6 separate regions of the Homo sapiens genome follow, and all the other regions are linked to region 1. The links are contacts of gene promoters, found by promoter capture Hi-C in blood cells and fetal thymus (Javierre and others, 2016). All regions are on one chromosome and are shown on one strand. The core of a region is centred on a gene start or on the middle of the fragment in contact, and the rest is flanking DNA. Distances in the headings are between cores, read along the strand shown. Region 1 holds the start of CDH5 (cadherin 5). Region 2 overlaps NAE1 (NEDD8 activating enzyme E1 subunit 1). Region 3 overlaps DYNC1LI2 (dynein cytoplasmic 1 light intermediate chain 2). Region 4 overlaps CMTM4 (CKLF like MARVEL transmembrane domain containing 4). Region 5 overlaps CMTM4 (CKLF like MARVEL transmembrane domain containing 4). Region 6 overlaps CMTM4 (CKLF like MARVEL transmembrane domain containing 4).

What was found. The method cuts DNA at HindIII sites, captures the fragments that hold promoters and counts their contacts. A CHiCAGO score of 5 or more calls a contact.
Region 2: a fragment that was not itself captured here is called in contact with the fragment with the promoter of CDH5 in region 1 in 1 of 17 cell types (non-activated CD4 T cells); the score reaches 6.1 in non-activated CD4 T cells.
Region 3: a fragment that was not itself captured here is called in contact with the fragment with the promoter of CDH5 in region 1 in 1 of 17 cell types (naive B cells); the score reaches 6.3 in naive B cells.
Region 4: a contact is called between a fragment that was not itself captured here and the fragment with the promoter of CDH5 in region 1, in 2 of 17 cell types (naive B cells and total CD4 T cells). The highest score is 5.6, in naive B cells.
Region 5: a fragment that was not itself captured here is called in contact with the fragment with the promoter of CDH5 in region 1 in 2 of 17 cell types (total B cells and naive CD8 T cells); the score reaches 5.8 in total B cells.
Region 6: a fragment that was not itself captured here is called in contact with the fragment with the promoter of CDH5 in region 1 in 1 of 17 cell types (non-activated CD4 T cells); the score reaches 5.3 in non-activated CD4 T cells.

What each region holds. Positions count from the first base shown.
Region 1 is chr16:66,363,891-66,368,717 of GRCh38, forward strand. It overlaps CDH5 (cadherin 5), which reads left to right and starts at 2,801. Exons shown (of 12, transcript NM_001795.5): 1 at 2,801-2,868. LOC105371318 (a long non-coding RNA gene) reads right to left here. Exons shown (of 3, transcript XR_933687.3): 3 at 290-1,037. RefSeq lists enhancers at 2,694-3,243, 4,054-4,760. The HindIII fragment of the contact is 26,652 bases long and covers 1-4,827 here.
Region 2 is chr16:66,806,682-66,811,508 of GRCh38, forward strand. NAE1 (NEDD8 activating enzyme E1 subunit 1) reads right to left here. Exons shown (of 20, transcript NM_003905.4): 14 at 4,016-4,091; 15 at 3,693-3,732; 16 at 2,308-2,394; 17 at 1,840-1,932. Among named protein-coding and RNA genes, the nearest start is that of TERB1, 7.5 kb to the left of the region's middle. The HindIII fragment of the contact is 665 bases long and covers 2,172-2,836 here.
Region 3 is chr16:66,734,870-66,739,696 of GRCh38, forward strand. DYNC1LI2 (dynein cytoplasmic 1 light intermediate chain 2) reads right to left here. Exons shown (of 13, transcript NM_006141.3): 5 at 1,206-1,375. Among named protein-coding and RNA genes, the nearest start is that of DYNC1LI2, 14 kb to the right of the region's middle. The HindIII fragment of the contact is 243 bases long and covers 2,452-2,694 here.
Region 4 is chr16:66,679,050-66,683,876 of GRCh38, forward strand. All of the region lies in intron 1 of CMTM4 (CKLF like MARVEL transmembrane domain containing 4), which reads right to left. Among named protein-coding and RNA genes, the nearest start is that of CMTM4, 15 kb to the right of the region's middle. The HindIII fragment of the contact is 2,696 bases long and covers 985-3,680 here.
Region 5 is chr16:66,659,388-66,664,214 of GRCh38, forward strand. All of the region lies in intron 1 of CMTM4 (CKLF like MARVEL transmembrane domain containing 4), which reads right to left. Among named protein-coding and RNA genes, the nearest start is that of CMTM4, 35 kb to the right of the region's middle. The HindIII fragment of the contact is 884 bases long and covers 1,842-2,725 here.
Region 6 is chr16:66,640,145-66,644,971 of GRCh38, forward strand. All of the region lies in intron 1 of CMTM4 (CKLF like MARVEL transmembrane domain containing 4), which reads right to left. Among named protein-coding and RNA genes, the nearest start is that of CMTM3, 38 kb to the left of the region's middle. RefSeq lists a silencer at 3,588-3,766. The HindIII fragment of the contact is 2,539 bases long and covers 813-3,351 here.

The DNA of each region.
Region 1 (4,827 bases), core at 1,551-4,050:
CCTGTCATTTATTTTCATTGTCTCATTTCATCTTCCAAACGGCCTGCAAAGTCTGAACAGATAACTCATTTCACAGGTGAGGAAAGAAGCTCAGAGAGGCAAGTCGGCTGCCCAGGTCATGCAGGCAGCAACGGGTCATGCTAGGATCCAAACCTGGGTCTGCAACCCCCACACCTGTACCTCCCCAAGCAGCGCTCCCTGTCGGGTCAGGCTTCCTCCTGGCAGAGGCCAGGTGGGCGTCCCCAGGCCTTGTCGTCCCACCCGCCATCCCACCCCCACTGCCTCCACTGTTGCTTCCTCCTCTGCTACTAATCTGGTCTCACAGACCATCCCATTTCCTGCTAGCCCACCAGCCGCCTTCCTTGCTCCCAATGACACTTCCTGGCCTTGTGCCCTCCTGTTACCTCCTTTGCCTCCAGAGAGGTTGGAGCAGAGGCTGGGCAGTGCCAGAAATCAGGCATGAAATCCTCAGGGGGACCAAGGAGGCACCAGCCTCCCTCCCACAGTCTCAGCTACCTCTGCTACGGTGACCCCCAGCCCCACCCCTGGGGCCCACAGCTCATGCCTGGCTCACCATTCCTTTGTTTATGGACCACAGGAACAGTCGTTTTCAGGGCAGAGTCAACTTCCTCATGGACTGGGAGTACAAAGGGAATTGGCAGATGGTGCCAGGACAGGCCCTGTCCCCATCTGCCACAGCCCCGAGTCTGAGACCCAGCAGGAAGCAATGCACAGGCCAGTGTATCCCCATGGGCACGTAGACCATGAGGACAGGCGGGGGTGAGGGGGATGTGGACTGGAACACAGGGGACAGAGCACTGTCCTGGCTCCTCTGCGGCCAACCCCCCCTCTGGGCAGGAGAAAGCAGAGTTAATCCCATTGGAGAAGGAAGCGCTGAGCTGTTGTTTGTTCATTCCACAATCGGCTGTTGAATGTGTTGGATCCCACTCAGAATTCCGCCCCAAGGACTGTTCTCCTTCCAGCAGGTCGCTCCTCAGTCTCCAGCATCATCTGTCTTCCCGTCTGCTGGATGCTCCCTGGGGACATGAGCGTGCTGCCATAGTTAAAAAAAAAAAAAAAAAAAAAAAAAAAAAACCCTCCCACTTCTCTGCTCCCATTCACTGTAAGACTTGGGGAAGAAGCTACAGTCACACGTGACTCCACATCCCCGTCCCCCTTTCTCCCCTTTCTCTAGCCCCTCCAATCTGTCTTGTCTACCTTTTCCTGTTTAACCTGTTCTGGTCACAGTCATTGATGACCTCATCTTCCAAATCCAAAGTTAAGTCTCAGCCCTCATGCTCCCCAGGCTGACCCACTGACTACTCCCCTGCCCTCCTCCTCTGCCCTCTCCTGGCATTCCTCCTTCATCATGGGACCCTCTTCTAATGGATCCCCAAATGTCAGAGGGTCCAAGTCCTCCCTCCCTCCAAGCTCATCCATGCCCATGGCCTCAGATGCCAGCCATAAGCTGTTGGGTTCCAAACCTCGACTCCAGGCTGGACTCACCCCTGTCTCCCCCACCAGCCTGACACCTCCACCTGGGTATCTAACGAGCATCTCAAACTCAACCTGCCTGAGACAGAGGAATCACTATCCCCTCCTCCTCCAAAAATATCCTTCCATCACACTCCCCATCTTGTGCTCTGATTTACTAAACGGCCCTGGGCCCTCTCTTTCTCAGGGTCTCTGCTTGCCCAGCTATATAATAAAACAAGTTTGGGACTTCCCAACCATTCACCCATGGAAAAACAGAAGCAACTCTTCAAAGGACAGATTCCCAGGATCTGCCCTGGGAGATTCCAAATCAGTTGATCTGGGGTGAGCCCAGTCCTCTGTAGTTTTTAGAAGCTCCTCCTATGTCTCTCCTGGTCAGCAGAATCTTGGCCCCTCCCTTCCCCCCAGCCTCTTGGTTCTTCTGGGCTCTGATCCAGCCTCAGCGTCACTGTCTTCCACGCCCCTCTTTGATTCTCGTTTATGTCAAAAGCCTTGTGAGGATGAGGCTGTGATTATCCCCATTTTACAGATGAGGAAACTGTGGCTCCAGGATGACACAACTGGCCAGAGGTCACATCAGAAGCAGAGCTGGGTCACTTGACTCCACCCAATATCCCTAAATGCAAACATCCCCTACAGACCGAGGCTGGCACCTTAGAGCTGGAGTCCATGCCCGCTCTGACCAGGAGAAGCCAACCTGGTCCTCCAGAGCCAAGAGCTTCTGTCCCTTTCCCATCTCCTGAAGCCTCCCTGTCACCTTTAAAGTCCATTCCCACAAAGACATCATGGGATCACCACAGAAAATCAAGCTCTGGGGCTAGGCTGACCCCAGCTAGATTTTTGGCTCTTTTATACCCCAGCTGGGTGGACAAGCACCTTAAACCCGCTGAGCCTCAGCTTCCCGGGCTATAAAATGGGGGTGATGACACCTGCCTGTAGCATTCCAAGGAGGGTTAAATGTGATGCTGCAGCCAAGGGTCCCCACAGCCAGGCTCTTTGCAGGTGCTGGGTTCAGAGTCCCAGAGCTGAGGCCGGGAGTAGGGGTTCAAGTGGGGTGCCCCAGGCAGGGTCCAGTGCCAGCCCTCTGTGGAGACAGCCATCCGGGGCCGAGGCAGCCGCCCACCGCAGGGCCTGCCTATCTGCAGCCAGCCCAGCCCTCACAAAGGAACAATAACAGGAAACCATCCCAGGGGGAAGTGGGCCAGGGCCAGCTGGAAAACCTGAAGGGGAGGCAGCCAGGCCTCCCTCGCCAGCGGGGTGTGGCTCCCCTCCAAAGACGGTCGGCTGACAGGCTCCACAGAGCTCCACTCACGCTCAGCCCTGGACGGACAGGCAGTCCAACGGAACAGAAACATCCCTCAGCCCACAGGCACGGTGAGTGGGGGCTCCCACACTCCCCTCCACCCCAAACCCGCCACCCTGCGCCCAAGATGGGAGGGTCCTCAGCTTCCCCATCTGTAGAATGGGCATCGTCCCACTCCCATGACAGAGAGGCTCCTCGAGGGCACGCTGGGCCTCCTCGTGGCTCAGAGCAGGGTCGGGGAAGGTGCACCCAGAGGTAGTGCCAAGGGCACAAATGGGCATCTCGGGGCTGAGGGGGGCAGGGCAAGGGCTTGGCTCTCCCAGAAGTGTATTCTCCAACTCAAAAAGGCCCACTGGCCTTCATCAGTGCCAGGCTCAGAGAGGGCAGTATTCTGCCCCAGTTGCCCAGCATGCCGGGGCAGAGGACTGGCACCCAGGCCTTGGCCTCCCCTCGGTGCCTTACCCTTACTGGAGAGGATTTACCAAGGCCTGACACCAGCCTCCTCAGCCCCCTACCCATACGCCACTAAAGCTCTATGCTGGGATCTGGGGAGGGGCCCTGAAAAGGAAGCTCCGAGCCTTGGCCCCTCTCGGTCAGCCAGTGCCCCCATTTCAGGATAGGCAAGCTGAGGCTTGGCTCTGGGCACTTGAGGTCTTGCCTTTCCCTCTGGGCCTTTCCCTGCCCAAACACCATCGGGGCCCACTATGTGTCAAGGGAGCTGTAGTCTGGACAGCGGTCCACCATTCCTCCCACCAGCACCCTTTCAAAGGCTAGAGCATAAGAGCCCCAAGGCCCCCACAGCCCAGGAAGTCCCCCAGAAGCAGGAGGTCTGGGCCAAGAGCCTGGCCTGGAGACAGCTGCCCTGGGTACAGATCCCAGCTCTCCCATTTGCTCTGGGGTGACCTTGGGAAAGTTACCCAGAGTTTCCAAACCACAGTGGGGAACAAGGGATGGTGTGGGGCTCATTATTTTACCATTAACAACTCCACAAGGTAGATACATTCTTTCTTTATATCTCAGTGAAAGCAACTGAGCTTTGGAAACATATGAGCTGGTGTGGGGATTTGAACCAGGATCTCGTACTCCAAAGCCCCAGCTCTCCCCAGGTCTCAAGTGTCTCATCTGTGAAATGGGGAAACAGTGTTTCCTCAGTCAATTGAGTGAAGTGAGCTACATCCCTGGTGCTGGGAATGGCACATAACATGAGATCTTTAAGGAATAGTGGCTGGATTTACCAGCTAGCACAGAGCCGATCCTGGTTGTGAATGTGATAAAGATTTTGGCCCTTGAGGTATGGTCAAACCCCATCACGGAGGGGTCCTCAGGTGCCCAGCAGGTACGAGGAAGGGGGTGCAAGTGAGAGGACATCGCGAGCACCTCTGGGCCTCTGCTCCATGTCAGGCTCCCTCCCCAGCGTGGACGTTTCTCATGTGTGATGGGCAGATAGGATTCTGACAAGAGAGGAAGGGCATTCCCAGGGAGGCAGCTTTGAGGAGTCGAGGGTGTACCTGGAAGGCTCTTTTGCCACAGGCCACTGGAGCCAGGGCCAGAAGCCCTGGTCCATCCTCAGGTGGTGGGAAGCCTGGGACTCTCCTCTGCCTGCCCTAGAGAGCAGCAGGTATCCACCAAGGGGCCCAAGAGCTGCTGAGCCCCTGAGCAGCCCTACCAATTTCAGCTTATGGTGGTGAGGGGTAGGGGAGGTGTATACTGGCCTGGAAGGGGTTAAGCTGCCCGCCTGCAGCCTCAGCCTGAGCTATTGTGTTGCCAAACAAGGGCCGGACATGAGGGCAGGAAGCCAGCAGGGGCCACACATTTTCTGCAAAGTTGGATGATTCACTGCTGACTTGGGGACACCCAGGGGACAGAGGGGACACCATCCCAGGAAGAATCTTAGGCTCATTTTGCCCACATGGACCCATGACTGTTCCCTGTATCCTCTCTCTGCACCCCCTCAGTCACACTGAAGCAACTATGAGAATTCCCATTTGACAGATGGGACCATCGAGGCTGAGGGAAGCTGTGCAGCCAGT
Region 2 (4,827 bases), core at 1,254-3,753, 440 kb after region 1:
GGATTACAGGTGTGAGCCACCATGCCTGGCCAATAATAGGTCACATTTATTGAGCATTAATAGATGCTGGACACTGTTCTAAGGACCTTATATCTATATTAATTGATTGAATCCTCAAAACAGTCCTATGAAGTATGTATAGTTATCTCCATTTATAGAAGAGAAAACTAAAGCACAGAGAGATTAAGTTACTTAGCTCATAAGTGATGCTGTATGACTTCCAAAGCTAGGTCATAAAAAGCCCTGTACCTTCCACTTGGGTTTTTTGGAATGTTAACTGCAGAAGCCAACTGACATGCCAAAAGGAAGTCCAAGCTAGCCACGTGAAGAGATACCTGACCAGCCGCCAGCTATTCCCACTGTTCTGACTAAGGTGCTAGTTACATGAGTAAAAATGTCTTCTTGCATGTCTAACTCAGTCAGTCAAGCCTTCAGAATGACTCCACCCCCAGGCTCAAGCAACTGCATGCCTCCCCAAGGAGAACTGCCTGAGACCAGGCAACCCACAAAATCACGACACTATTTATTGTTTTAAACCACTAAGTTTTGAAGTGGTTTGTTATGCAACAGATAACTGAAATAAATACTAATCAAATAATACAAATAAAGCAATACATATTTGGTGTTTATTCTTTTTTTTTCTTCTAGTAAGCTTGCTTGTTAGGACTATAAACTCTGGGCAGCGCAGTGGCTCATGCGTGTAATCCCTGCACTTTGGGAGGCCAACACAGGAGGATCACTTGAGGTCAGGAGTTCGAGACCAGCCTGGCCAACACGGAGAAACCCTGTTTCTACTAAAAATACAAAAATTAGCTGGGCGAGGTGGCGGGCGCCTATAGTCCCAGCTACTCGGGAGGCTGAGGCAGGAAAACTGCTTAAACCCAGGAGGCGGAGGTTGCAGTGAGCTGAGATCACGCCACTGCACTCCAGCCTGGGCGACAGAGCGAGACTCCGTCTCAAAAGAAAAAAAAAAAAGACTATAAACTCTGGAGACACACTGTATCAGATGGAGCAGCAGGTTTTATGATACCCCTAGAATGTGTTGCTATGCAATAATCCTGCACAATTAAAATTATCATCCCAAAGAAAAATATTCTGAGCAACCTCAGATCTTTGAGATTATGCCAATTCTCCAATGACTACATTTGCTGAAGATAAAAAGTAGATAACTAAACAAAGAAATTCCTACATCTTCAGAGTTATTGAGTTCAGAAATTAGTAGCATACTTTTTTTTTTTTTTGAGACAGTCTCACCACAGTCACCCAGGCTGGAGTTTAGTGGCACAATCACAACTCACTGTAGCCCCAACTTCCCAGGCTCAGGTGATCCTCCCGAGTAGCTGAGTCTACAAGTGCACACCACCATGTCTGGCTAATTTTTTGTATCTTCAGTAGAGATGGGGTTCCACCATGTTGCCCACGCTGGTCTCCAACTCCTGGGCTCAAGCAATCTGCCTGAATCAGTCTCCCAAAGTGCTGGCATTACAGACGTGAGCCACCGTACTATGCCTGGCCAGCATATTTCTTGTGGCTTTCCTATTCCACTAAATTAAACTCAGTGTGAGTCTTAGTAACAAACTATGGAAAATGACAGAAAAAAGTTTTCTTCTATACATATTCAACCAACATCCCCCTGTAATAGTTTAGAATCGAACACTATTTTGCAAATAGTTAAACTTAAAAAACAAAAGGTGGTTCTTCACTGGGGAACGTTTGGGGTGTAATCTGTTTACAATGTGAAATTCAAGCAACACTATTATAAATACCCTGAGAACACTTTCAATTTAAATGTTTTATTGAAGATCTTATTATATCTGGTAATTCAATTGCTATTCTTACCTGGATATCTACCCTGTTGTTTATGAAATCTATCAACAGCCCGTAACATTAAGTACAACACTATTTCATTATCTGGATTGTCCATGCTAGAAACTGAAAGGAAAAAAAATTTCAGTTTAATTTGGTTAATTTGCAATGTAACAAACAATGAAGGGCTGAATTTACTATATACTTGAGTTTCAGGACTATTAACTGGAGTCACACAATCTCTACTGAAGTAGTAACATACTGACTTTAACTCATACATATCACACAATGGACTCAGTGACCTAAATATGACTTTATGCATACATTAAGTTTCATATAATATATAAATTATAATTACCTAGATAAGCTTAGAATAAAATTAGAATATGTTTACGTTATCTTTAATATCATCACCATATACTCAACACTATTATACACAAAATATTTATATCTTTTAAATTAATTAAAATTAACCCAGAATCAGAAGGCTATTATACTTACTAATTTCATCCTTGTTAATTGTATCCAAACCATATTCTTCAGCTAAGGATCGACATCTTACCACTCGAAGAAATGCAGAATTGCTGCCTGAACAGAGGAAAGATATTCTGGAAGTAATGACTGTGACTGGTGAATATTATGAATCACAGGTGACTTTAAGAACAGAGAATTATGTGTATACCCTTCTCAGACATGAGAATGTGAAGAAATGTTTTCTCCTTGGTTCTAATAGCAGAGAAAGCACTAGAACATGAATCACCTTAAATTTATATCCCTGGCACTACAACCAGTTCAGAAGCAAGTAAGGTGATGGCCTCTCTGAACCTCAGTTTTCAAGTGTAAAATGGGGATGATACTGTTTACCTTTGAGAATTGTTCTACAGATTAAATGTGACATCTGTATAAAGTGCATCTCTAGCACAATGCCTGATATGGCTCTAAAAATAATAGTTTTCATCATTATTATGGATAAGTAGTCCTAAAGGAGAGAGGTTTATGAATTGTACTCTTGATATATGTAATGACTTTAAGCTTTGTATTATTGAAATTTTCAAAAACGCCCCAAAGTAGAACAGAATAATAAATGTTCAAATACCCAGCATCAAACTTGTGATCTAGTATTATATAATCTAATACAACAAACGCTAATTCAAGATTAGTCTAATAGAACAAACAAGGTGCAAGATTAGTAGTGGCAGAAAACATTAAAACCGAGCCTAAACAGACATTGTGGAGAAGTCATAAAATGGAAAGCTTGGATAAATCTATTTTAAGGATGGGGAGCATGCAAAATATAAACTTCCACAGGACGTAGGAGCAGTAGCTACAGGGAGAAATCTTCAGATGGCATGCACAACAGATTGGGTATTTTGAAACTGACTCTTAAATAAAAGAAAATGCTTTTGGCCTACTGAGGAGTTACTGAGAAGACTCCTACGAACCTAACCACTCCGAAACTAGATGGCAAAATTCTTAACTCCATTACAGTCATTTAACACAGATCAAAATGAGTATTTAAACCAATATTGTCAATGTACATGTGACTCAAGACTTCACACCCAAAGTCTTCAGACAAAAAAACTTCCTAAATTACTTAAAATTTAAAAACTGAAAATCCTGTATTAATGGCAATTTTCAATTAACTGACCGTCAAGCCTTTTTAGCATTGCCACAGATAAACATGTTCTACCTCTGATTCAGTCTTAAAATACTCGCCATGTATTGTATTATGAGAGGAAAAAAAAAACCTTACCCAATAATTATCTATATCTATATCACTGAGGCCATGGAAAACTTAAAATTTCAACCATTCAAAATACCTGGGAACATTCCCTGTGGCACATTTCTATCAAGCAAAATAAGGAAATTAATTCAAGGGGACTTACAGAGTAATTTTAATTCTTTCTCTGAAATGGACTCTGGTGCCTGTAAAGAGATAAATACAGATTCTGTTCCAGTTTAAAAGAGAAGATTAACAAAGGGTGCGGCACAAAGCCAATCACTGTGAGATGGGAAGGCTTTCTCCAAGAGCTGGGAGAGCACTTTAAAAATATCTTGTTTCCTTATCACAAGCTATCCCATTAGGCAGGGAAATGACAGCTCCCTCTAAAGAAGCACAGAGGCAGTGCCACACCCTCTGTCTCTAAACCCTTTCTGGCTGGAGTTACGTGCTGAGGCCTGTATGGGCACAGTGTGCCCAGTAGCTTACCTGGCCAATGGACTGCAGCAATTTGGCAACATGATTACCCACAGCGGCAGCATCTTTCTTTGCTTTTTCACGGTAACTAAAAAAGAATAAAAAGCAATTACTAACAAATTTTTAAATTAGCAAAATTTAAATTGTTACCATGAACAAAAATTTTCTTTCCTTTTCATGAAAAAACACAGGTCTGACAATGTATGAAATGTGAAAATGCCAGGGAAATGCTATCAACAGCACCATGAGTAGCTGGGAATCTTTCCAGTGTTAGTGACGGACTCTCAGTGCCCACTAAAACCCAGGGTCCCTCTAACAGCACCCAACTTAAAAACTGCTCCCCTAGAGGGATCTATGATTTCGGCTTCTGTGACAGAGGACCTGAAAAAATACATTACTGAAGAACATGACTTATCTCCTGGAAGTCAAGTCCAAGGAAAGTTAAATACATTAAAACTGTTCATCTCCAATGTAAAACTTCTTTGTTTTTTGAGACAGGATCTCGCTCTGCCACCCAGGCTGGAGTACAGTGGCGCAGTCCTGGCTCACTGCAGCCTCAACTTCCCACGCTCAACTGATCCTCCCACCTCAGCTTCCCAAGTAGCTGGGAATTCAGGCACACGCTACCATGCCCGACTAATTTTTGTCTTTTTTGTAGAGACGGAGTTTCACCATGTTGCCCAGGCTGGTCTTGAACTCCTGGGTTCAAGTGATTTAGAAACTGAAAATACTGTATTAATGACAATTTTCAATTAACTGACCTTCATACCTTTTTAGCATTGCCATAGATAAACATGCTCTACCTCTGATTGTTTTAAAATACT
Region 3 (4,827 bases), core at 1,323-3,822, 370 kb after region 1:
ACCTGTAGTCCCAGCTACTCAGGAGGCTGAGGTAGGAGAATCGCTTGAACTGGGAAGGCAGAGGTTGCAGTGAGCCGAGATCACACCATTGTACTCCAGCCTGGGCAACAAGAGTGAAACTCCGTCTCAAAAAAAAAAAAAAAAAAAAAAAAAGTTTTAAAACCTATTGTTTTTCCTTATATAAGAGATACAACTTTATTTCTCTATTTCTCTATGACTGAACTTTGTTTGTTTTTTTTTTCTTTTTTTTTTGAGACATAGTCTCACTGTGTCATCCCGGATGGAGTGCAGTGGCGCCATCTCAGCTCACTGCAACCTCAGCCTCCCAGCTCAAGCAATTCTCCTGCCTCAGCCCCCGAGTAGCTGGGATGACAGGCACCTGCCACCACGCCTGGCTAATTTTTCTATTTTAGTAGAGACAGGGTTTCACCATGTCGGCCAGGCTGGTCTTGAACTCCTGACCTCAAATGATCCACCCACCTGAGCCTCCCAAAGTGCTGGGATTACATGAGCCACCATGTCTGGCATGACTGAACTTAATTTCTATTCCTACCTCATCATTCTAATTTTCCACCATCAGTTTGGACCACATCAGCTGATTTAAATAGCCTTAAGGAAACTGCTGTGAGTTCTTTTTTTTTTATTTTTATTTTTTGAGACGGAGTCTCGCTCTATCGCTCAGGCTGGAGTGCAATGGCATGATCTCGGCTCACTGCAAGCTCCACCTCCTGGGTTAATGCCATTCTCCTACCTCAGCCTCCCAAGTAGCTGGGACTACAGGTGCCCGCCACCACGGCTGTCTAATTTTTTGTATTTTTTGTAGAGACGGGGTTTCACCATGTTAGCTAGGATGGTCTCCATCTACTGACCTCATGATCCGCCCACCTCAGCCTCCCAAAGTGCTGAGATTACAGGCGTGAGCCACCGCAACTGGCCAACTGCTGTGAGTTCTAAGTTTGAAAGTCAACAGTGCTTCAGAGACATTAACCCTAGGCCATGAGCAAACTGACTAGTCATGTTTCCTGCATTTAAACTTCCAATTTACATGATAATTTTTTCTGTCTTGACATATTCAATGTACCTTAATGAATCTCAAATAAGCCCAAGTCTCCCTTGGGAAAAAAACGTCAACAGTTTCTCAAACTTTCAGATGGTGACTGTTCACCACCCGAACCCAGCCAAGCCAACAACCCCCTGGCACACACCTTTGTGCACACCACCAACACCGGGATCCCCAGGTTATGAGTCAGCACATTGTCACCCAGAGGCAGGGCAACATTTTCTTCATCGGAGCCTGAGGTCAGAGGGCCTCTTCTCTGTGGGGAACCTTGACAACCTTCTTCAGGTTCCATATAGTCTTGAAAATCTTTCACAACTGGGGGAAAAAGAGGAAAAAAAATCACATGCACATAAATAAAAATACATGTTAGCTTTAGAACACTGAAAAGAAGGCAATAATAAGCACAAAACACAGGCAGTTGTGTGTGACAAACTTCTTAGTCACATCCAACTGCAAAATCAAGGATTTGGGGATGGTGATACAAAATGCCAATTCTGAAATATTCAGTGTGAGCTTTGTAACATCGGGGCAGCAAAGACATTCCCCTGGGCATCTTTAATTGCACCAAACCCCTGAACAGGTTTTTTTTTCTTCTTTTTTGAGACAAAGTCTTGCTCTCTTGCCCAGGCTGAAGTGCAGCAGTCTGATATCACCATCTTCTGAGCTCAAGTGATCTTCCCACTTCAGCTTCCCAAGTAGCTGGGACTAAAGGCATGTGCCACCATGCCCAGCTACTTTTTAAATTTTTGTAGAGGTGGGATCTTCCTGTGTTGCCAGGCTGGTCTCAAACTCTTGGGCTGCAGAGATCCTGCTACCTCGGCTTTCCAAAGTGCTGGGATTATGGGATTACAGTCTTGAGCCACCATGTCTGGCCCTTAAACAGGTTTTTAAAAAATACTAAGGTTTCAATAGTTCTTACCATGAAGAAAGCCACTTTTCTTATGTATCTTACATTTTCAGAATACCAGAAGAGTTGAACTGTGTAACTTCAACATAGCTGACCATTAGAAACAGCTATAACTTACAATACTTATCACAGTCCTCATTAGAAATGCCTAATGAGCTGGGCACAGTGGCTCATGCCAGTAATCTCATCACTTTGGGAGGCCAGGGCGGGTGGTTCACCTGAGGTCAGGAGTTTGAGACCAGCCTGGCCAACATGGCAAAACCCCATCTGTACTAAAAATGCAAAAATTAGCTAAGGATGGTGGTGCACCTGTAGTCCCAGCTACTTGGGGACTCGTGCTAAGGCATGAGAATCGCCTAAACCTGGGAGGTGGAGGTTGCAGTGAGCTAAGATTGCGTCACTGTACTCCAGTCTGGGCAACAGAGTGAGACTATACCTCAAAAAACAAAACAAAACAAAAAACAAAAACAAACAAAAAACAACAAGCTTCCACCCTGGCCAACATGGTGAAACCCTGTCTCTGCTAAAAATACAAAAATTAGCTGGGTGTGGCAGCACGTGCCTGTAATCCCAGCTACTTGGGAGGCTGAGGCGGGAGACTCAGTTGAACCAGGGAGTCGGAGGTTGCAGTAAGACAGAGCGAGACTCCGTCTCAAAAAAAAAAAAAAAAAAAATGCTTAATGAAACAATTGAATTTTATAAGAACATGCTGTTTCCACACAGCTGAAGCTTGTCAGCACTAAGTAACCAGGCTGGTCTTGCCCAGCACCAGATGTATTTCCTTATTATCCTCACTCTTGTGGACTCAGTCTCATCTTTTGGGGATCCCAAGTCACTTGTGCAGTGTTCACGGCCTATTCCTGCCTAACACAAGAAAGGGTCAGTGGTACAACATCCACTTATTGGCATACAATATTCACTAATCCAGCTAAGGAAGGCCATTAAGGTGACAATGGTCCGAGCCTCAGTTAAGCCAAGTGACCACAAAGCCCACAGCTCTGCACCTTTATGTGGGCACTTCAAGGCTCTCATGTTGGTCCAGAGAACAAAAAATGCAACAGTTAAAGCTACCTTGAGCCAGAGAAGAAAACAGGCAGCTCTACCCTTCTAAGTCCAGTAAGACTGAAGGATCAAAGGCCTTTTACTCTCACCAACATGCTAAGTAAATTCAAACAACAGGACTGAAGAGGACCTAGAGAAAGGTCCTACCTGCTCCTCTTCACCCACAGAACACGTTTCAAACATTTCAAACCACGAGTTTTTATTTACAAAGATTTGACGTTACTATTATATGAGCTTCTGAAATTATCTGAGAGCTCTCTGTCTTTCATGTAACAGTGAGCAAACTGAAAACTAACTGATTAGGCCCTAAAGTGCAGATGTGATATTTCATCTCTACAGCTTCTTTTTTTTTTTTTTTTTTTTTTTTTGTGATGGAGTTTCGCTCTGTTGCCGAGGCTGGAGTGCAGTGGCACAATCTCGGCTCACTGCATCCTCCACCTGCCGGGTTTAAGTAATTCTCTGCCTCAGCCTCCTGAGTAGCTGGGATTACAGGCACCTACCACCATGCCCGGCTAATTTTGTTTTGTATTTTTAGTAGAGACAGGGTTTCACCATCTTGGCCAGGCTGATCTTGAACTCCTGACCTTGTGATCCACCCACCTCAGTCTCCCAAAGTGCTGGGATTACAGGCGTGAGCCACAGCACCCGGCCTACAGCATCTCTTTAATTAAGCTCATTCATATACCTTCACTGTCAGGCTAAACGCGATGGCTTATGTCTGTAATCCCAGAACTGTGGCAGGCCAAGGCGGGTGGATCATGAGGTCAGGAATTCAAGACCAGCCTGGCCAACATGGTGAAACCTTGTCTCTACTAAAAATACAAAAATTAGCCAGGCATGGTGGCGGGCACCTGTAATCCCAGCTACTTGGGAGGCTGAGGCAGGAGAATCACTTGAACCCAGGAGGTGGAGGTTGCAGTGAGCCGAAATCGTGCCATTGCACTCTAGGCTGGGTGACAGTGAGACTCTGTTTCAAAAAAAAACAAACACACACACACACACACACACACACACACACACACACACACACACACACAAATACTTCACTGTTAATACAAATAATCTAGTCAAGTAAACCATACTCCATTTTGGATAAAAACAGAGAAGAACTCCTCCATGTGGTTGTTGAAGGGTCTTTAAAGGAATCAAATATTCTCACATTTTTCTCTTTAAAAGCACTTTTAACAAATCTTCAAATCAATAAAATATACAATGGCTTAACTGGGCAAGATCTAATGCCCGAAGATCTCGTGAGGCACTCAACTAGGGCTTCCCAGACAGTGAGAAGCACAGAGCCTGGAAGGGCTCACAGGTAAGCTAAGCTACGGTTGGAAGGTGGAGGCAGGAAGTTCAGACAGCTGGCTCCACGAACCTCCACCCCATTACCTCGTGCACTGTAAACTTTTCTGCTGTTTTTTACCTGTGCCATGAGGAGAAAATAGTTCAGAAGCCCTAGATTATTCACGCTCTAAAGGAATGACTTAATTGTGGCTGCCCAACAATAGGAAATTCACATTTTTAAATAACTTAGCATTTTATTTTATTTATTTAATTGTTTTTGAGATAGAGTCTTGGCTCTGTTGCCCAGGCTGCGGGGCAGTGGCACAATCATGGCTCACTGCAGCCTCGACCTGCTGGGCTCAATCAATTTGTCTGCCTCCGAGTAGCCAGGACTACAGGCATGTACCACCATGACTGGCTAAATTTTTTTAGAGACAGGGTTTCGCCATGTTGCCCAGGCTGGTGTCAAACTTTTGGTCTCAACCAATTGGCCCACTTCAGCTTCCCAAAGTGCTGG
Region 4 (4,827 bases), core at 1,083-3,582, 310 kb after region 1:
GATCATGCCACTGCGCTCCAGCCTGGGTGACAGAGCAAGACTCCATCTAAAAAAAAAAAAAAAATTATCCTTTAATATCTACAAACAAGTTAAAGTCCAAAACAAGTGCCAATACTCTGTATTCGCTGTTCTAAGAAGTAAAGAAAAAAATTCTAGGTCAATAATTCATCCAACCCCAAACACTTTGAAGTCTGCTGGCAAGAAGGATGACAATCAAGTCTCAATTTTCACTTCTTTACCCCGCTCCATGGGAAAAGATGGCTTCCAGCTTCCTCATCACTTTTACTGGTTCTGATTTTAGCAATTCTTAAATTTTATCAATAATCCAAGGAGAAAGAAGAACTGAGGGCCCCCCTTCTCCCCTGACTCTGAGAGATGTGACCCCTGAATTATGCAAAAAGGGTTCTCTTGAGGCTGGAGACCCCCCCAGGAGCAGAGCCAGCAGAGGGGAAAACAGAAACGGACCAAGTCAATGTAAGATGGGACTGATGAGGCCGGGCATGGTGGCTCATGCCTGTAATCCCAGCAGTTAGGGAGGCCGAGGTGGGCAGATCACTAGAGGTCAGGAGTTCGAGACCAGCCTGGCCAACATGGTGAAACCCTGTCTCTACTAAAAATATAAAAATCAGCCGGGCGTGGTGCTGGGTGCCTGTAATCCCAGCTACTCGGGAGACTGAGGCAAGAGAAACGCTTGAACCTGGGAGGTGGAAGTTTCAGTGAACTGAGATCACACCACTGCACTCCAGCCTGGGTGACAGTGCGAGACTCTATGTCAAAAAAAAAAAAAAAAAAAAGATGAGACCGATGAGTGATGCTGGAGCAATGCTCACAATCCGCCTAATGGTTACAGAAACAAACTCACACGGGGGCTCTGGCCTTGGAAGGTAGACTGCACAGCTCCCCACCAGCTAGCCAGTTATTGACCCCAATAGGCTTCTGTTTCTGCATCTGTAAAATGGCAACATTAACAGTGCCTGCCTGATAAGCTTGCCATGAACGTTAAATGAGGTAACACAAATAAAACACTTAGCAATCTGGCACATAGCAATGCACACTTCAGTGCTACCTTTAGTATCATTTATTGATTGAGAAATGAATTTAATGTACTGTAAACTAAAAGCAAGAAATATAATAAATCATAACTGCCGGCCAGGCACAGTGGCTCATGCCTATAATCTCAGCACTTTGGGAGGCCAAGGCGTATGGATCACTTGAGGCCAGGAGTTCCAGACCAGCCTCACCAACATGGTAAAACCCTGTCTCTACTAAAAATACAAAAATTGGCCAGGTGTGGTGGTGGGTGCCTGTAATCCCAGCTACTCGGGAGGCTGAGGCCCGAGAATTGCTTGAACCCAGGAGGCAGAGGCTGCAGTGAGCCGAGATCACACCACTGCACTCCAGCCTGGGTGACAGAGTGAGACTCCATCTCAAAAAAAAAAAAAAGGTCGGGCATGGTGGCTCATGCCTGTAATCCCAGCGCTTCGGGAGGCCAAGGCGGGCAGATCACGAGGTCAGGAGATCGAGACCATCATGGCTAACGCGGTGAAACCCCGTCTCTACTAAAAATACAAAATATTAGCCAGGCGTGGTGGCGGGCACCTGTAGTCCCAGCTGCTCGGAAGGCTGAGGCAGGAGAATGGCATGAACCTGGGAGGCAGAGCTTGCAGTGAGCCGAGATCGTGCCACTGCACTCCAGCCTGGGCAACAGAGCAAGACTCCGTCTCAAAAAAAAAAAAAAAAAAAAAAAAAAACCATAATGGCCACCTCCACCTCTTAACTCTCTCTCATTTAGTTATGTCCTTTCCATCTCCACTGCCAAAAGACCAGTTAGTTAAGCCTTCTTTTCTCACTGGATCTACTCAAAGTCTCTGACCAGGTCCTGCTGCAATAATCTCACCCTTCTCAAAGCCATTGCACACACCTTCTAACCTAGAAATATCCAACAGAAATACGTAAGCCACACATGCAACTGAAAATTTTCTAATAGCCATATTTTAAAACGTAAAAAAGTAGAATTTGGATAGTATATTTTATGCAATCCAATATATCCAAAATATTGACCAGACACAGTGGCTCACACCTGCAATCCTAGTACTTTGGGAGGCTGAGGCAGAAGGATCACTTGAGGCCAGGAGTTCCAGACCAGCCTGGGCAACACAGTGAGACCCTGTCTCTATAAAGGAAAAACAAATGAAAAATATTACTTCAATATATAATCAGTATAAAATTATTAATGATAGTTGACATGCTTTTTTTCCTATTAAATCTTTTTTTTTTTCTTTTTTGAGACCGAGTCTTGCTCTGTTGCCCAGGCTGGAGTGCAGTGGCCTGATCTTGGCTCACTGCAAGCTCCACCTCCCGGGTTCATGCCATTCTCCTGCCTCAGCCTCCCAAGTAGCTGGGACTACAGGCACCCGCCACCACGCCCAGCTAATTTTTTTGTATTTTTAGTAGAGATGTTAGCCAGGATGGTATTGATCTCCTGACCTTGGGATCCACCCGTCTTGGCCTCCCAAAGTGCTGGGATTACAGACGTGAGCCACCGCGCCCAGCCTTCCCTATTAAATCTTTAAAATCCAGGGTGTATTTTGTATTTATGCATATCTCAATTCGTACCAGCCACATTTCAAGCGCTCAATAGCCACAGTTATAACTGTTCCCCATCTCTTTTAGAAAAATCCAATTTCATCAGGCTAACAAATCGGCCCCTCACCAGCCTGGGTCCCCCTCATCTTGCCCCATTTGTCAAATCACTTGCCCTTCCCTTCCATACCTTTGCCTGGTGAACCACACTTGACTCACCTCTTACCACGCCTTTCTGGGCTGGACCCTAGCACCTGGGATATTCCTTTGCCACAGGCACACCCTCCTTATTCCAGGCATTGGCCATTCAGCATCTTACAGCAATGTGCCCCTTTCCCAAATGGCCACAAGTGCTTCCTGCCAAGCCCACTATCGCCAGGCCTCTATCACAGCCCCTGGCTCAGGTGGTCCAATGGTTTGTGTACTTTTGTCTGCCCCACTCCAAACCCTTACTCCCAAGAGCTCTGGGAGCTCTTTGGAGGCAGAGATTTTTGTCTTATTTCTAATAGTACCTGGCCCACCCTAGGCACTCAAATGTATATAAAGTATGGATTTTTTAAAAAGGGGTGAATGATAGCATTTTTACTGACATCTAGTTACTGATCTTGATTTAACTTTCAAGTTATTTAGCCAACACTTAATCTCAAGTTATACACATTTCTAGGGCTTGGCCTGAAAATGGGTGAAAGAAAGTAGACAAGCTGAGGAAGCAACTACCCCTGGAAGAGCCATTGTTTCTGGGTTGTTTTTCTTTTTTTTTTTCCACTGGCACAAAAATCTTTTAGCCTTAAACTGTTTTTCACAGTGGTGCTGGAATAAATGGGAAACCACAAAAATGAAGGCTTCCACTGCACCAGTCATCAAATCGCAGTGGCAGTAAAGAAAACATCCAGAACTATCCACACTTGATTAAACTTTGAACATTTTAAGTGTTTATTAACTCATTTAATTCTCAAACTTAACCATTCATTTGAAATTGTCAACAACAAAATGCTGGCTTAACAGTATTTCCCATAGCCTTCTCTAGCCTTCACTGAAGATCGCCAGCCTCCCTTTGCAGGCCTCATGGAACGGTTGTTCTTTTATTTTAATCAGAAAGCTTTAAAAAAAAAATCACTATGACCCTCAGCTTCAATGCCAGTTGTGACTTTTTCTTTGCCTGAAAAGTGTCTCTTGAAAGATACTTGCTTGACAGATACAAGCCTCTCTCTTTCTGAATGTGTTAATCAGAAAGCAGACAACTTCAATAATAATTACAGAATCCTGGTTTTCATTTTACACTTTTCTAGGCAAAAAGATTGGCAAAGCCTCTTATGGTTTCCCCAACTTTTACAAAAATCTGTCTCCTAAGCAAAATCTTCTGTTTCCTAGTAGCAGTAGATAGTCTACTTAAAGTTAAAAAAAGAAAAAGTAATTACGATGGCATTTTATTTCCATAGTTTCTCTCCAATATTTTCCACCTCAAATAGAGTCTAGTTGTGTGTGTGTGTGTGTGTGTATATATATATATATATGTATATATATATACGTATATATATATATACATATGTATATATATATACATATATATATATATATAAATTTTCCCCATGGATTCCATGTTTTCAAAAACTTGACCTTACAAACTACATTAATAACCCATTTTTTTCTTTTCTTTTTTTTTTTTTTTTTTTTTTTGAGACGGAGTCTTGCTCTGTCACCCAGGCTGGAGTGCAGTGGCGTGATCTCGGCTCACTGCAAGCTCCGCCTCCTGGGTTCACATCATTCTCCTGCCTCAGCCTCCCGAGCAGCTGGGACTACAGGCGCCCACCACCACGGCCAGCTAATTTTTTGTATTTGCAATAGAGACAGGGTTTCACCATGTTAGCCAGGATGGTCTCGATCTCCTGACCTCGTGATCCGCCTGCCTCGGTCTCCCAAAGTGCTGGGAGCTACCACGCCCGGCCCATTTTTTTTCTTTTATTAAACAAACACATACATTCAACTGTCTATTCAACACCTATGTGCCAGACCCTGGTTTAGACACGGGATACAGCAGGGAACTTGAAAGCCAAGTCTTTGCTCTCATGGAGCTGACCTTCCAGCTGGATGGTCAATGCTCTGGAGGAGAATCAAGCAGGGTGACAGGGGTCAATAGTAAGGCAGAGTGGGGTGGGGGAGTGTTCTATTCCAGATGTGGGGGGATAGGGAAGGTCTCTTTTGAGCGGGAACCAGAAGAACAGAGCCAAGTGGGAATCTCTCTGA
Region 5 (4,827 bases), core at 1,034-3,533, 290 kb after region 1:
AATCACACTAGAGAAAGCCACCAGTCAAGGCCAAAATGGGAAATCTATATAACAAATTACCCCATTTCATCAGCAAACAAATGACATAAAGGGAGATGAGGGCTGTTGTAAGATTAAGAGAGACTTCAGACACAGCAAGCAAATGCAATCACGTATGGATCTTGTTTAGATCCTAATTCAAACAAACCAAAAGGGCATTTTGGAGATCACTGGGGAAAAGTGAACATAGGATAGTCAATGACATTAAGGAATAATTATGTTATTTTGAAGTAATATTGATATTGTGGATGTGTCATTTAAAATAAAGTTCGTAACTGATAGAGATGCATACTTCATATTTATAGTTGAAATGCTATGATATTGAAGACTTGTTTTAAAATATTACAACAAAAAAGGAGGGGAGCGTTGATTAAACAAAAATGCAAAATGGTGATAACTGTAAAAGCTGGATAAAAAGTATGTGGGCACTTGTACTATTATCTTTACTAGTGTATGTCTGAAAGTTTCCATAATAAAAATTTAAATTTTTTAAAAATGTTGAAGAACTTATATCCAGAACATACAAAAAACTCAAATCTCCACAATAAGAAACAACCCAATTAAAAAGTGGGTAAAAGATATGAGCACATCACAAAAGAAGATATATAGATGGCAAACAAGCACATGAAAAGATCCTTAACATCACTAGCTATTAGGAAAATGCAAATTAAAACTACAAGGCAGAGCACGGTGGCTCATGCCTGTAATCCCAGCACTTTGGGAGGCTAAGGCAGGAGGATCACTTGAGCCCAGGAGTTGGAGACCAGCCCGGGCAATCTAGTGAGACTCCATCTCTACAAAAAAAGAAAAAATTAGCCAGGCGTGGTGGCACATGTCTGTGGTCTCAGCCTCTTGGAAGGCAGAGGTAGGAGGATTGCTTGAGCCTGGGAGGTACAGGCTGCAGTGAGCCCTGATTATGCCACTGCACTCCAGCCTGGACAATAGGGTGAGATCCTGTCTCAAAAAAAAAAAAAAAAAAACAAAACTCCACCATAAAAGGTGAAATTTATTGCATGTAAATTAAAAAGAAAAATTTTCAATGTTGTAAAGTCTATTGATAAGGAGAAGCAGCATAGAACAGTCATGTTACAAAGCAATCTGTACTTGTAAATATATGCACACAGACATATGTGAACAAATACGGAGACAGTGTTACACACAATGTGACTAGTGTTCATCTCTGATGAGTAAGATACTAGGACATGTGTTTTTTTCTTTTAACTTAGAGGTATTTTCTAATTTTTCTTAAATTGGTATTACTTGTGTGATTTCTTTAAGAAGTAATTTAAAAACAAGCAAATAAAAAAATAACTGCAAGCTGCTCTGGGAAGCCTTTCCTCATCCCTCCACAATAAACCTCTCCCTCTGCAGGCTTCCTGCTGTCTCCTCAAATCTCCTAACACTTGGCTGCCCTGTCCCCATAGTCAGCTCTTCCCTCTCCTGCTCGCTGTGCTAAGTGAGGAAGTGCAGTTTACCGCACGGTGGGGCCTGTCTCCGGAATCGCGTCTAGCTGGCTCCCTGCTCTATCCCTCCCGAACAGACACTCAGGAAAATAGCTGAGTAATGACTGACCAACAGGGCATGAACAGGCATCTACGAAACAGTCATTAAACCATGTCCACAGGCAACTGGACACTATCCAAAGGTTGATAATTAATGTTCCATGTCAGCCTAAAACATGGGCTCAGGTGAAGGGCCACTTAAGTTTCTAGAAATTATTTGGGAGAAAACATACAAAGCTGGTTTATCACTTGCCACATCTGTGAATAAGAGACTTCAGATTGCTAATATGTAAGGTAATAAGCTTCAAAATTATCCCAACATCAGCCAGACTGGTGCTGCGGATGGACTGTAACCCGTATAAATTTCAGGTTCAAAGATTCAGCTACAGGAATATAGAGTAGGGAGAACAGACTTGATAAAAGCAGCCAAGTGAAAACAGACCTGGTGATTTTAGCTGACATCAGTCACACTGAGGCTAAACGCTTGTCAGTTAAGGATGAAGTAAAAGACTGTCATTTTTAGTGGGAAGTAGAGCTAAGCAGTCCCAAATCTTTTCTATAATGCTCTGTTTTCATATTCACAGGCAGAAAAGTCTGTTCGCTAATATGAAAAGATAGTAACATTAAGTCCAAATTTTATTAAAATGGATCCTTTTATATGATTCCTTGCACATGCCAGGAATATCCCAGAGTAATACTTAAAACATTTCCTTACTATAGGCCGGGCACGGTGGCTCACATCTGTAATCCCAGCACTTTGGGAGGCCAAGGTGGGTGGATCACCTGAGGTCAGAAGTTCAAGACCAGCCTGGCCAACACGGTGAAACCCCCATCTCTACTAAAACAACAAAAAAATTAGCCGGGCATAGTGGTGCATGCCTGTAATTCCAGCTACTCAGGAGGCTGAGGCAGGAGAATTGCGTGAACTCGGGAGGCAGACACTGCAGTGAGCTGAGATCGCACCACTGCACTCCAGCCTGGGCAACAGAGCAAGACTCTGTCTCAAAAAAATAAAATAAAATAAAAATAAAACATTTCCTTACTACAAAAACAAAACAAACAAAAAACCAAAACACCATGCCACCGTGATTCATCTCTACACAAGCCAGGGCCCCAGCAGCCTGCAAGCCAGGAGCCTATTTGGCTATCAGACAATAAAAACAGACAACAAAAACAAATTAGAAAGCTTCCAAGTATCATAAATTTGGAATTCCAGTTCCAGTTAATGAAGTAGGTACACTCCAGCCTGTCTGTCCCACTGAATGCTGCTATCAAACTGGAAACAATGCACAGAGCAGCTATTTCAGGACACTGAAAAACAAATCAAAGTAGGCAGATGGTGAAGATGCCCAGAGTTCAAAGCACCACAGAACCAACAGTCAGGCTCCTATTTTTCCTCCAGTGTTCCCCAGCTTAGACTCTAAGGAGCCTCAAACCCAGAAAAACCCAGAAAAGAGAGCCTGGTATAGATAGGGAGTCCAGGACAATCCTCTAGTTCTGGCCAGAAAAGTAGACAGGGGGATTTTCCTAACACTCATAGACATTGAACACAATCCTGGGTTTTATTTTCCTTTTAACTTTTTTTTTCCTTCATTCTCACTTAGATTTCAGACCCCAGACAACCCTGAAGTGTCAGAGGCAATGCAGCAGCAGGAGGCTACAGATGTCCACAACAGAGGAGTCGACTCAGAGGAACCCGAGTTCTTAGGGCATGAGCGAACCCCCTTGCTTTCCCCTTCCCCTGTCCTCCCACCATGTGGCCTAGGACATGGACACAGCTGTGGAAACTGTTCAACAGAGTAGGGTAACTAAAGAACCAGCTTTTGGGACACAGACCCGAAAGAGGAGTTCTAAGGGCTGGAAAATACCAAGGAACTGGCAGAAAGAGGAAGCAAACCCATAAAGTTCTATAAACTCCTGTTTATAAATCAAAACACCAAGCCCATAAAGCTTATAAACTCCTGAGCTCACCCAAAGTTGTATATATATGTGTATCTGACCCTAAACAGTGCAGTAAAGACGTTGAGAATGAACTATGGGATAGCTCACCACCTAGGTCCCAGACTGACCACTGGGTGGCATATACCGAGCAAAGATTCAAATAGCATCACAAAGGCTTTGAAACAGAATTGATATTGAACCTTCAACCCACAGAAGACTGACCAGAACTTCTCACTTGAACCCAGCCAGGTTGATTGCTTTCGAAAACAAAACAAAAATCAACATTCTTCATAGGATTTAAACAAGACCAGAGTCCCATAACATAATAAACAAATGTCCACGATATAATTCTAAATTACTTGGCATACAAAGAACCAGGAAAATCTCAATTCATATGGAAAAAGACAATCAACAGATGCCAATGCCAAGATGACACAGTTGTTGGAATTATCAGATTGTAAAGCAGCTATAATAAAATAACCCAAGATTAGCCAGGCATGGTGGTATACCCCTGCAGTCCCAGCTAATCAGGAGGCTGAAGCGGGAGGATTACTGGAGCCCAGGAGTTCAAGGTTACAGTGAGTGATGAGCTACCTTCTGCTATCCAGCCCATCCATTTTTATTTTGGATACTACGTTCTATGGTTCTAAGATTTTCATTTGCTTTTTTTTTTTTTTTTTTTTTTTTTTTTTGAGACAGAGTCTAGCTCTGTCGTCAGGCTGGAGTTCAGTGGTGCGATCTTGGCTCACTGCAACCTCCGCCTCCCGAATTCAAGCGATTCTCCTGCCTCAGCCTCCCAAGTAGCTGGGATTACAGGCAAGCGCCGCCACACCGAGCTAATTTTTGTATTTTTAGTAAAGACAGGGATTCACCATGTTGACCAGGATGGTCTCAATCTCCTGACCTCGTGATCCACCCACCTCGGCCTCCCAAAGTGCTGGGATCACAGGTGTGAGCCAACACACCCGGCCCATTTGCTTCTTTATATCTTCTATTTCTTAGCTGAGACTTTCTGTCTTTCTATTTGTTTAAAGAGTACGCATCCCTACTTCTTGGATTATTTTATATAAAGCTTAGAACAGGCCAGGTGCAGTGGCACATGCCTGTAATCCTATCACTTTGGGAGGCTGAGGCAGGCAGATCACCTGAGCTCAGGAGTTTGAGACCAGCCTGGCCAACATGGTGAAACTCTGTCTCTACTAAAAATACAAAAATTAGCTGGGCATGGTGGTGGGCACCTGTAGTCCCAGCTACTCTGGAGGCTGAGGCAGGAGAATTGCTTGAACCCGGGAGGCAGAGGTTGCAGTGAGCCAAGATCGCACCACTGCACTTCCAGCCTGGGTGA
Region 6 (4,827 bases), core at 832-3,331, 280 kb after region 1:
GAAACCACTAACTGGGCATGGTGGCGCACGCCTGTAATCCCAGCTACTCCGGAGGCTGAAACAAGAGAACTGCTTGAGCCTGGGGGCGGAGGTTGCAGTGAGCTGAGATCGCGCCACTACACTGCACTCCAGCCTGGGTGATAGAGTGAGACTCTGTCTCAAAAAAAATAATAAAAATAAATAAAGTTTAGACAGAGTGTCCCTGGAGGGTGCTATTTGAGACAGAGTTGCCGAACATATAAGGGACAGCTGTCTGGAGAAAGAGCACTGGAGGCAGAGTGGGGAGCAAGGTGAGATCCCTGGGAAGGGGGTCAGGTGGCCCCTAGGGAGAATCACAGGAGGGAGGTCAGACCCAAAGAGCGCTTGGGTGCAGTGAGGTATGCGGCTCTCACTCTGAGTGTGATGGAAGCACCAGAGAGTGGCAGGATCTCCTTTGGGTCTTAAAAGGGCCACCAGCTACTTTGCGGAGAACAGACTACAGTGAGGACAAGGGCAGAAGCCAGGAGGAGAGTGACAAGACCCTTGCAACAATGAATAGGGCTGACCTATTACCTTGCAGAAATGACTTCACAGGTGTGTGACTGCACAGGCTCAGTCAGAAAAGTTAGCATGGTTCCTGCCTTGCTCTCTCTTAGACCACTCATGATGGGGAAAAACCAGCTGCCATGTCTTGAGGGTACTCAAGCAGCCCTATGGAGAGGTATAGGTGCCAAGAACTAAAGCCTCCTGCCAACAGCCATGTTGAACAAGCCGTCTTAGACATAGGTCCTCCAGCCCCAGGCAAGCCTTCAGATGACATAGCCCTAGCCAAAAGCTTGACTGCAACCTCCTGAGAGAACCAGAGCAAAGCCACCCCCCAAATTCCTGACACACAGAAATGAAAAGAAAAGAAAGATCTGATTCTTGTTTGTTTGCTTTTTTAAGACAGGGTCTTCCTCTGTCACCCAGGGGGTGCAGTGATGCAATCATAGCTCACTGCAACCTTGAACTCCTAGACTCAAGTGACCCTCCTACCTCAAACTTTCGAGTAGCTGGAACTACAGGGGCACACCACCATGCCCAGATAATTCTTTATTTTGTAGAGACAGGGTCTCACACAGGCTGGTCTCAAACTCCTGGCCTCAAGAGATCCTCCCGCCTCAGCCTCCCAAAGCACTGGGATTACTGGTCTCAGCCACTGTGGCCCGCCTAAGATGTCTTGTTTTAAGTCACAAAGTTTTAAGGTAATTAGTTATGCAGCAATAAATAATATATCAGGGAGGGAAAACTCTTGTTGTTATAAAACATTAATATTCTACTCATTACTCATTGATTACAGGTACATACAAATCAAACACCTTATAGGCACTTCTTGTTTTTTATCATTTAGTTCCCCAGTACAACCTTATGAGGTAGATATTAGCCCCATTTTACAGATAAGGAAATTAAGGTTCTGTGACATATAGATAGCAAGAAGCGGTGCCAGGATGTAATAGCCAAGATTTGATTCTCAGTCTCTCCAGTTCTTACTGCCCCACTATGTTATTTCCCTATTAGCTTCTCACCCATAAAATTATACCTGCCTCCTTTCCAAATCTCAAATGGTCACTGTGTTCAAAATCCAAACAAAAATATATGTAAAAGGGCTCTACAAATGACAAAATGCTATATACAAAATAAGAAAATAACATGTTATAACCTACACCTATTTAAACCATAAAATACCTATTATATATCTTATTTTCCAGCCCACTTTTTCTGCTAAATAGTGTTTCCACAGGTATGTCCACATATAGATGTTACTTTTAATAATTACATGTATTCATATGTAATTACATAGACAGATACATAAATACACACATATACACCTCTATACACAACCACAATTTAATTGATCCCCTATTGATAGGCATTTAGATGGTTTCTAATACTCTGCTGTTACAAGCAAAACATTTTTTTGTCTGACATTGGACACAGCAAAATGTCAACATTTTCTCTAGCACAGTGAAATCTAATCACTGCTGAAATAAAAACTACCTATTGACCAAGAAGGGCTCAGATAAAGTGATACTAGAAGCCAACAACTTCAAGGGAACCAAAGAGTCAAAAATAGTTCAACTTATAACAACCTTGAAGTGAGCAAATGTCACGTGAACAAATTATACAGAGATGTCCAAAAAGATGTATATAAGAAAAAACTTTTTTGTTTACTAATCATGCGATTATGGATGCCCTTGGAGAGAGTCCTTTCCAGGTGGCAACTACAAACTGACCAGAGTAAATATTTTAATATTTGATAAGTAAACTGGGCCAGGTACAGTGGCTCACACCTGTAATCCCAGCACTTTGGGAGGCCAAGGGAGTTGGATCACTTGAGGCCAGGAATTCCAGACCAGCCTGACCAACACAGTGAAACCCCTGTCTCTACTAAAAATACAAAAAATTAGCTGGGTGTGGTGGCACATGCCTGTAATCCCAGCTAGGCAGGAGGCTGAGGCATGAAAATCACTTGAACCCTGGAGGTAGAGTTTGCAATGAGCCGAGATCGCGCCACTGCACTCCAGCCTGGGTGACGAAGGGAGACTTCATCACCAAAACAAACAAACGAACAAACAAAACCAGAATTGATATTAACAGGTTGTCAGATTTCCACAACTGTGGCAAATTATGATTGGCAGCATCTAAAAGCAGGAAGAGAAGGAAAGAGAGAGGACTGGCTGATGAAGTTACCATAATAGTCATCCTTCCACTCTAACTTTCTGTCACAGCTTCTTGTGCCAGGCAATAATGAAATAGCAATTTTTGGTTTTGTTTCGTTTGTTGCCAGAGTCTCTGTCGCCCAGGCTGGAATGCAGTGGTGAGATCTTGGCAAGTGCAACCTCTGCTTCCCGGGTTCAAGTGATTGTCCTGCTTCAGCCTCCTGAGTAGCTGGGATTACAGGCACCTGCCACCAAGGCCGGCTAATTTTTGTACTTTTAGTAGAGACAGGGTTTCGTCATGTTGGTCAGGCTGGTCTCAAACTCCTGACCTCAAGTGATCCACCCACCTCAGCCCTGCAAAGTACTGGGATTACAGGCATGAGCCACTGCACCCAGCCACAGTGGGCATTTTTGGCATTCAGCTAACTGGAAGTTGAGTGAGGGATACATTAAATTTGGGTTTAGCTGCCGGTTCCACGTGTGGTTAAGCTACCGTAGCACTCCCAGTGGAGGAATGGCTTTCACATATGCTCTGACACCACTGCACAGGCTCATCTGACATTATGACAATGGAACAGACCCCAAACTTCATGAGATAAACTGTCCTATGATGACCAACTAGAAATATGTGGGTAGTAGAGGAGAAATAGGGTTTGAAACATACGGAGCCAGAAGCTTGTCTGTGGGAAATTCTTCAGATCATCAAATGCATAAAATTGTAAGTACAGAATTCTATTGTCATCAGTGCCTAAATGAGAGTTGTGTCTTATCAGGAAAATACTCAGTAATGTAGTGTATGCAACTATAAATGCACTAAACGTTTTCTCCCTTTTTTGATGGGAGCCACATGAAATAGAATTTATCAGAATTCCAGGGTGTGTAGGGCACAAAACTGTGGCAGTACTATAAACAGCAAGTACTTCTTATTTTTATTATTATTATTATTTTGATATGGAGTTTCGCTCTTGCAGCCCAGGCTGGAGTGCAATGGCATGATCTCGGCTCACCGCAACCTCTGCCTTCCGGGTTCAAGCGATTCTCCTGTCTCAGCCTCCCAAGTAGCTGGGATTACAGGTGCCCACCACCACACCCAGCTAGTTTTTGTATTTTTAGTAGAGACGGGGTTTCATCATGTTGGCCAGGCTGGTCTCAAACTCCTGACCCCAGGTGATCCACCCACCTTGGCCTCCCAAAGTGCTAGGATTACAGGTGTGAGCCACCGCCCCCGGCCAACAGCCAAGTACTTCTGTGCAGGAGTTTGGAGTTTTATGTCTCCCAATGTACCAGATCGCATCTTGATACAGCTGATGAATTTTAAATTGACAAAGTCTGACAATCCCAAATAAAATGGCACACAAAATTGCTTCCAACTCACTGAAACAGCATGAAGAAACAAGTGTTCAGTGACAAACTCCTACACATGTTCATCAATAAACCAGTGAATGGGGCCTCAGAACATATTGACCGTATAATGACATGACGTTGCTCGAAACAATGTAGTGGCAACCTAAAATCTGAACTGCACTTGTGTACACCGAAATGTCAGGTAGACTTTGTATACTTTTTCAGAATTACTGATCATACTGAAGTTCAAATCTACGAAGGATCTATTGCAGTGGAGGCCAAAACAAAAACAGAAAGAAAATGCTTTTTAAATTTGTAATTTATTGTTTCCTGTTGGATGTCAAAAGAAGGCCCCCCCTTTGTCATTTAGTGTGTTTCTTATTTTAAAACAATATTCACTATTGTACCTGTCTTGTGTTTTTGTCTTTCTTTTTCCAAAATCATGAGTCTTAAGCTCCTCAAAACCTGTACCTACTGCTAGGTTTGGACAATGAGGTGTGAGTGGGGTAGACCCCTGTCGTGACCCTTGGCAGCAGCCTTTTGGAACTACAGACAGTTCCACCATGCTCCTTCCCTGCCACAGCAGCCTGCAATGTTCCAGACCCAGGGCGGGGGAGGGGAATGACCAATAAACACATCAACAGATGCTCAACTTCACTTCCAACAAGAGAAATGCAAACTGAGGTACCCTTTTCATCTACTCGATTCATAAAAATTATAAAGTGATATCCCATACTGGTGAGAAAATGTCAAATCAGGCCATTTTCCACACTGATGGTGAGGGTACAGACCAGCATGGCATGCA